Regions from separate parts of the Homo sapiens genome. Here region 1 is linked to region 2. Evidence: promoter capture Hi-C in 16 types of primary human blood cells and fetal thymus (Javierre and others, 2016). All regions are on one chromosome and are shown on one strand. Each heading gives the region's core, a stretch centred on a gene start or on the middle of the fragment in contact. The rest is flanking DNA. Distances are from core to core; before and after follow the strand shown.

What was found. The method cuts DNA at HindIII sites, captures the fragments that hold promoters and counts their contacts. A CHiCAGO score of 5 or more calls a contact.
Region 1: a contact is called between a fragment that was not itself captured here and the fragment with the promoter of RASSF5 in region 2, in 1 of 17 cell types (endothelial precursors). The highest score is 5.2, in endothelial precursors.

Annotation. Positions count from the first base shown.
Region 1 is chr1:206,150,210-206,154,215 of GRCh38, forward strand. All of the region lies in intron 1 of LOC105372873 (a long non-coding RNA gene), which reads left to right. Among named protein-coding and RNA genes, the nearest start is that of AVPR1B-DT, 34 kb to the left of the region's middle. The HindIII fragment of the contact is 2,738 bases long and covers 321-3,058 here.
Region 2 is chr1:206,504,446-206,508,823 of GRCh38, forward strand. It overlaps RASSF5 (Ras association domain family member 5), which reads left to right and starts at 3,086. Exons shown (of 6, transcript NM_182663.4): 1 at 3,086-3,614. The coding sequence starts at 3,158. LOC124904493 (a long non-coding RNA gene) reads right to left here and starts at 2,962. Exons shown (of 2, transcript XR_007066830.1): 1 at 2,421-2,962; 2 at 1-675. RefSeq lists enhancers at 1-24, 55-104 and silencers at 2,702-2,751, 3,002-3,361, 3,402-3,491. The HindIII fragment of the contact is 3,877 bases long and covers 2,720-4,378 here.

The DNA.
Region 1 (4,006 bases), core at 440-2,939, 360 kb before region 2:
GCCAGAGGTTCAAGTTCCATGCCTGTAGGGTTGGGGCTCATGGATTTCTACATTATATACTTGGAAAGGTAGACTTCACATCTAAAACACGTAAATCAGTTCCAGCTTTCCTACATGGAATGCCATATTACATGCTTTTGGGGCCAGATTCCCTGCTCAGAGGTTGAGATTTCTTTCATGGAATGCCAAGTTCCATGACTGTTGCATGTTTCCAGTCTTGGATATTCTTGGATTCTATACATGAAGTGCCATCTTCCATGCATGGGGAGCACCAGGTTTCATGTCTTGGGCGACCAACTTCTATGACTGAGACACAAGCTTAATGTCTGGAGTGCCAAGCAATATACTTATTAAGCCATGTTCCATATGGGGAGATTGAGATTCCACATATTGTGTTCCATTCCATTCCTGAAAGTTTAAATTTCATGCTTGGAGATAGAGATCCTTACATGGGGTGTCAGGTTCCATGCTCTTAGGGTCAGAATCCATTCTGGAAATTGAGATTCCATACATGGAGTGCCAGATTTCATGCTTGTAGAGCCAACTTCCATGTTTGGATATTGGGATTCCACACATAGAGTGGCAGATTCTGTGCCTGGAGGCATGGTTTTACCAATGGAGAGTCAATTCAGTGCCTGGAAGGCTACATTTCTACTCAGAAATTCAGGTTTTACCCACAGATGGCCAAGTTCCCAAAGTGGAGAGCCATATTACATTTCTTTGAATCAGGTTTCATGCTCATAACTCCATGTTTCATCTCTAGAAGTACAGATTCCATACTCGGAGGGTCATGGAACACCTGGAAGATGGCCAGGTTCCATACCTGATGGGCCAGACGCCATGACTTGCGGTTCAGGTTCAACCCACGGAAGACCATGATCCAACTTAGACAAAGAGGTTTCATAAAGCAGTAACTTATGGCATGCCTAGAAGGCCTGATTCCATGCTAGCGGCCCAGGATCCACATATAGAAGCCCAGGTTCCACACACACACATGTCGTATTTTATGCCTGGAAAGGAAGGATTCACACCTGGAGAGATATTCCATGTTTGGAAAGTCAGATTTTATATATGGAGGGACAGGTTCTGTGTTTAAAGGGATACATTTTATACCTGTGTTGCAAGTTTTCATGCTTAGAGGCCTAGGTTCAATGCTTGGAGGTCCAGCCACTGGACCTGTACAGTGGCTTCTCATGTGGAGGACCAGATTGTATGCTTGGAAAAGGAGAAATAACACCAAGAAGACCTAAATCAGTTCCTGAAAGTTCAGAGTTCATATAGGACTTCAGGTTCTGTGTTTGGAGATTGAGATTTCACATATGGATTGTCAGTTTCCAGCCTTGGAGAACAGGTTCCATATCTTAGATTTTTTAGAGAATCAATTTTCAATTTCCTAAATTCCAAAGGTACTCTTTTTTTTTTTTTTTTTTTTTTTTCAGACCGCGTCTTGCTCTGCTGCCCAGGCTGGAGTGCAGTAGCGTGATCTCGGCTCACTGCAAGCTCCGCCTCCTGGGTTCACGCCGTTCTCCTGCCTCAGCCTCCTGAGTAGCTGGGACTACAGGCGCCCGCCACCATGCCCGGCTAATTTTTTTTTTTTTTTTTAGTAGAGACGGGGTTTCGCCATGTTAGCCAGGATGGTCTCGATCTCCTGACCTCATGATCCGCCTGCCTTGGCCTCCCAAAGTGCTGGGATTACAGGTGTGAGCCACCGTGCCCAGCCTTTTTTTTTTTTTTTTTTTCCGAGACGGAGTCTCCCTCTATTGCCCAGGCTGGAGTGCTGCAGTGCAATGGCGCAATCTCAGCTCACTGCAACCTCCGCCTCCCGGGTTCAAGCAATTCTTCCGCCTCAGCCTCTCGAGTAGCTGGGACTACAGGCGTGTGCCACCACACCCAGCTAATTTTTTTGTATTTTTAGTAGAGACAGGGTTTCACCATGTTGGCCAGGCTTGTCTCTAATTCCTGACCTCATGATCCGCCCACCTTGGCCTCCCAAAGTGCTAGAATTACAGGCGTGAGCCTCTGCGCCCAGCCTGTTTCTTAAAATTAATATGTCTTATTGCATATGTGAGGTCAAGGTGTCATACTGTCTCATCATTTCCACCTCCTCTTTCACAATTCCCATTCTCCATTTTATTAAAAATGAATGAATGAATAAATGATTATCACATGTTTAAGGCTTCCTGAATTTAATTATGGGGCATTCCACTGGGGTGTAATTACCTGCAGCATGATATTGTAGAACAACTCAATATATGGAAGCCTCCTTTAGTCAAGAAATTGTAATCCTACACTAAGGCTACATGTTTTTGTCTTTATATTTTTGATAAGGGTGCAGCATAATATAGAAACAAGGTATTTGGGGACATCCTGAATTCATGTATATTGAGGAGTGAAGTGGCAGGAATTATGGCAAATTTTGTTGAAGGGTCTTGCCTTTTGCATTGCCTAATTATGATCAAATAATGCATTGCTACTATAGGAGAGTTCTGAGAGGGCAAAGTAGAGAGGCTCAGTACAAAATACAGAACTTACCAGAGCTCATTCCATCCTGGAGACAAACTTATGACAAGACTCTGTGCCTTATCCACCTCCCTGCCTCCTTTCCTTCCTGTCTTTTTATCCATCTTAGAATTAAGATATTTAAATTTTGTCTGAAGCATGTCAGAGAATAACAACATGCTATAAAATTTCACTTGTGTTCACCCATGTGTCAGCTGAGTATTTTGCATTGTTACATTTTTATTTTACTGTATTTTATTTTATTTTTTTTTGAAATGGGGTCTAGCTATGTTGCAAACTCCTGGCCTCAAACTCCTGGGCGCAAGCAATCCTCCTGCCTTAGCCTCCCAAAATGCTAGGATTACAGGTGTGAGCCACTATGCCCTGCCTATTTTGCATTATTTCAAAGAGAAGGTGAGGTCACACATTTACTTCCAACAGATCAACATTATATCTTCAAGTTAGCAAAAGCAATTGAAAGTAGGTAGTGGCATTCTATATTTCCATAAATGCTCCTTTAGACTTGTAAAAAAATTGTCATTAATTTTGGCCAAAAGCTTATTGATGTCATAAAACCATACTCAGTTTTTACTTGGACACATTCTCCTGCTGTTCCTCATCAACCACTTTGTGGGTTTAGTCATTCAAAGTATGTACTTACTAGATTTAGATTAATTCAATGGAGATATGTTGTGAATTCAACTGAAAATAATGCACTTAAATAATAATTACTGTATCTTTTGTAATCAGCACACTTACCAGAGCTTCAACACCTGCCTTTCCTTTTGCTATTTATTTCCACAAGATAGATTAAACTACATTTTTAACAGTAGAACATTTACTTATGTAGAACAAAATGTTCCTAAGCTGTAAACTACTGTGTAATGACCTGAACACTCTAGAAAGCCAGCTTCATTACATTTGTTTTGGGAGTGCGCACATAAAATGTTGAAGGACCACTGTATTAAAAGGCTATTAGCATAATCTCTAGGAGACACAACCAGAAAACCAAGCATAGAGGCTGAGCAGCCAGAACCAATACTGCTACCGCTGTCCCTGCCACTCAACACAGGCCGAATAGTGGGCAGGGATGCTATGCCAAGCCCCTGCCTTGATTCTCTCTGGAAACTGGATGTATCTTTGCTGCCTCTCTGCTGTCACCTGAAGGGATTCCCTCAGGACCCCGTCTTCATGACTTCAGTCTTCCACACTGAAATCACATGCAGGAGCACTGATTGGTGGAGTCTGTGCCACAATTTTTCCTCACTTCAAGGGAATCTGGGAAAATTTGGCCTCTATTTTCAAAAGGCAGACTCACTAGATGGGAGAGTCCCAAATATAAAGAGTATTCAAAGCAACTAGAGAGCTTAGAAAAAAAAAAAAGAATGACAAATGCTATCACACAAAGTATATAATAACACATGATTTTAAAAACAAATATTTTCTTTAATTCATTACATGATCGAGGATTGCATTTATGATGTTCATTTTACTCTAATGCTTTACT
Region 2 (4,378 bases), core at 1,836-4,335:
ATCTGACACTACCCCAGCAATGTCCTGAGCTTATAATGAGACTAGAGTTTCTTTAGCACTTCTTCCCTGGGGAAGAAGGAATACTCTGCTGTTCATGTGGGGTGTGTGTGTGTGTGTGTGTGTGTGTGTGTGTGCATGGGAGCAAGAAAGAAGTCTATGTGTGTGTCGTGGGTTGGTGGGGAAATGCTATTTCAAGGAAGAAGGGGACTGGGCTGGGAAAACTGGCATCAGAGGAGACATGCCCCAGCCAGGGAGCCTCACATTGAGGTTAAGAAGGGCAACTGCCCGCCCCAACTCTAATTTCTTGGCTCAAGGAGATGAACTTTAAGATAAACTTTATGATAAATTTTTTGATTGGTTACATGGAGTTATATGATTAATATCTCCATTTTCATCTCTTTTCCCACCCCAGAAGCCAAATATAGGGCTCTGGCCCTGCACAATCTCCTCCCACATTCATGCTAAGAGCAGCCACTGCCACTCCACCAAATCAGAGCTGCAGGAGGAAAACAAAAACTAGAGCATTTTTCTGTACAGCCCAGACAACTGGGGAAGAGTTTTATGCCTGATGGTTTCAGATAGCCCTCAGTTTCCCGTGGCCAGAGATGACGCTCCTCCTCATGAGTCTCTCTATCCAGGAAATCTGGGCTGGGCTGCCCAAACCATGCTTTGAGGCTGCAGGGAAGGACAGAGATGGAGACTGTTAGCAATTATTTCACAAATGGCTTTTCAAAGCCGATCTTCCAGGGATGCACTTGTTGTCAGATCCCTGCTGCTTCTTGCCCCACCAGGCTGTCACTCAGAGCTCAAGCTGTTTCCATGCCCAGGACCTCACCCACCCACTGCACTCCAGGAAGGGGATGAGTCTCAAGTGTGTGGAGATGGGTAACAGAGTGTGGACACAGCAAATATTTATATGGAATACAGATTTCTGCAACAACCCCAAGAGAACTGCTTGCAGAAAAAGTGGGAGATTAAAATAAGAGACCACAAGGGCAAATTGTATTTTCCCTTTTACACCTTCAGCAGAAAGTATTCAGGAATAGCCCTCATTGGGCTTTTATCTGTCAGGTCCACTGAAGTACACTTGTCCTGGGGAGAAGGAACAGAGAAGCCCATTCTCAGAATCACCACCTCAGACCTAGAGCAATGGTTTTCCAAGTTGGGTCCCTGGATCAATAGCATCAACACCTGGGAACTTGCTCAAAATGAGCCATCTCAAACCCCAGCCCCAGACCTATAGATTCTGAAACTTTGGGGATGAAGCCCAATAATCTTAACAAGCCCTCCAGATGACTGTGATGCATACCAAGGTTTGAAAACCACTGATGTAGCAAAAGCAAGGTTAGGAGAGGGAAGAGGAAAGGTAGAGGAGGGGTGGGGCAGAGGCGGTGGCCTGTGGCTTACACCCCTCATCGGAGCTCCTCTGTTTGGTAGCACTGTGGGGTTGACTGTCCCATGGGTCATTCCTCAGAAACCACCTCATAGGGTGAGCTCCCGCCTCTGGTGAGCCCCCAGAGCCCCAGGAACCTCTCTTCTGCTACAGATTTGGGAGGCAGAGGACTATGATTACCGTGAGGGAGAAGCCATGGAGCAAAGCTGGCTGGGAATTCCCTGGCCACTGGACTCTGGAAATCTTAGGAATTACCTAAAAATTACCTCCAAGGGAAAAACAAAAAGCAAAAGTGAAGATTCCCCTACGAAGCACTAGGGGGAGACCCATCTCTGGCCTGGGAAGAGAAGGGAGAGACCAGGTCCAGAAGAATTTAGACTATTCTTCTAAAAAATGACCACCGCTAGACGGACCAAACCGAACCTGTGTTTTAAGAGGAAAGCTGTGATCACTGAGTCATAATGACGGAGCTGGAGAGTGCCACGTTAACAACCACCTGTCTCCCCACCTCCAGCCCAATGTACAGTTAACAATACTGGGGCTAGAGAGGGCCAGGGCCCAGGCCCAGGTTCAGAGATCCAGGAGTCCTCCTTATCCATAAGATGGGCCTGTTTCCATGGGCAAAGGTGCCTGTCAGGAACAACTACATAATTTGTGGGAACCAGTGCAAAAAGAAAACGCCTGGCCCTTTGTTCAAAAAGTAAGACTTTCAAGATGGTGACCGCAGAGCGTTAAACCAGACAAGGGTCCATGAAGGCTTGAAGCAAGCCTTCACGGGGGAAAGTGCCGGGAGAAAGGAGATCTCTCTTTGGGTCCCATGAGTGAACCATCCATACCAGGTTCCACTTAGGGCATTTAGGGGAACTGGTATCTCCACAGTAATTACTAGAGCAGCTCTGGGGAACGGAGGGTTGGCTAAGGAAGAAAAGCTCCCCCAACCCTTGGGGCGAGGGAGCGTTCTCTCAATGGAGCCCCCCCAACTCCCCTCCACCCCCCACCAGTCTTCCAGGAAAGAGGAATACCCTACCCGGCAGGGCTGCGAAGGAAGGGGAAATCCAACCAGAGCGAAAGTCGCACGCGGACAGCTCTGCCAGCCCTTGGAGGCATCCGGCGGTCACCCACGGGACAAAGCGCGGCTGCGGGAGCGCGCGCGGGGCATTCCGGACCCGCGTCGAGCTCCGCTCTAGAGGGGGCGGCGGGCGGCGACAAGCCGGAGAGAGGAAGGGCCAAGGAGCACGGCCCTCCTGTCGGCACCATCAGCGGGAGAGTGGCGAGCGGACGCCTAGACGGAGGGGCCCTACTCAGACCCCATCGAGCCAGTTCCCAAGCTTTTCCCTCCGACCTGCTCCCTCCCGGGGCGCGTGAGGGTGCGGGTCGGGGGTGAACCTGGTGTTGGGGAAAGTGATTGGCAAGGGAAAGAGGCAGGGCTGAAGGCCTAGGGCCCCCCGCAGAAATGCGCCCTCTGAGCTGTACTGTACAGAGGCGCTCCTCTGCGGAATCCTGCAGCTGCTCCAGGTGAAGACGCCCCCAAATCCACACTCGCGCAGACGTCGCCTGGCACGGACCCTACCCCCTTCGGTCCGTCGGCGGTTCTCTTGGGTCGTCCTTCCTGCCACTCCGACTCTCCCCGCCCCCGCCCCGCCCAGCAGGCTGCGGTTCCTTTAAAGGCGCGCTGGTGTGGGGCGGCCCCTTCTCTCGGGGCTGGCTCGGGAGTAGCGCAGTCGCCAAAGCCGCCGCTGCCAAAGCTGCCGCCACTAGCCGGGCATGGCCATGGCGTCCCCGGCCATCGGGCAGCGCCCGTACCCGCTACTATTGGACCCCGAGCCGCCGCGCTATCTACAGAGCCTGAGCGGCCCCGAGCTACCGCCGCCGCCCCCCGACCGGTCCTCGCGCCTCTGTGTCCCGGCGCCCCTCTCCACTGCGCCCGGGGCGCGCGAGGGGCGCAGCGCCCGGAGGGCTGCCCGGGGGAACCTGGAGCCCCCGCCCCGGGCCTCCCGACCCGCTCGCCCGCTCCGGCCTGGTCTGCAGCAGAGACTGCGGCGGCGGCCTGGAGCGCCCCGACCCCGCGACGTGCGGAGCATCTTCGAGCAGCCGCAGGATCCCAGAGTCCCGGCGGAGCGAGGCGAGGGGCACTGCTTCGCCGAGTTGGTGCTGCCGGGCGGCCCCGGCTGGTGTGACCTGTGCGGACGAGAGGTGCTGCGGCAGGCGCTGCGCTGCACTAGTAAGTGTGAAGGCAGGGGAGGGGCGTGCGGGGAGACCGCAGTCTGGGGGCGAAGGACTGGGAGGGCCCTGGGGCAGGGAGAGAGGGGCCATTACACTCTTTGGCTCCAGGGGAGCCCCGAACATAAGGAGATAACAACCCCTGGGGACAGTCCGCTCCTTAGTTCCCTGCCCGGTATCCTTTAGTGCCTGCCCACTACCTAGGTATGGTTATGCGGTAGTTAACAGATACCTGTCTCCTGACAGGTGCGTGCCTTGGCCCTCCACACACACACACACACACACACACACACACACTCGCACACAGGTTGTGGGGGGTGGGTGGGTGATGGCCTCGGCGGCCTCTGTCATCTCCCTGTGCACCCTCATGGTTTTGTTGTGAGTTCTTGGGAGTGGGTTGTGAGACTGCTGTTGAGATGACCGTTTGACCCTTGCTTATTAGGGTTACTGACAAAACGCTTGTTTGTCCGCCCATGGTACAGGCTCAGACCTCTCCTCCAGGGGGACGTATTGGGACAGGGAGGAGACCTTGTTAGATTTTGGATAAAGGCAGGCTGTGAGGCTGAAGAGAGCCTGAAGTCACCCTGAACCCGTGCCCCCTCCTGCCTTTCACCTCTGGCCCCTCAAACCTTTGGACTCTGCTCCAATGTTTGGCTGTGCCCTGCCTCCTCCCCTTCCTCCTCCTGGGTTCCTGCCCTAGTCGTCATGCTCTAACATTACTCAGCTCCTGACAGGGTCCCTTCCTCTCCACAGCCCTCAGGCCCC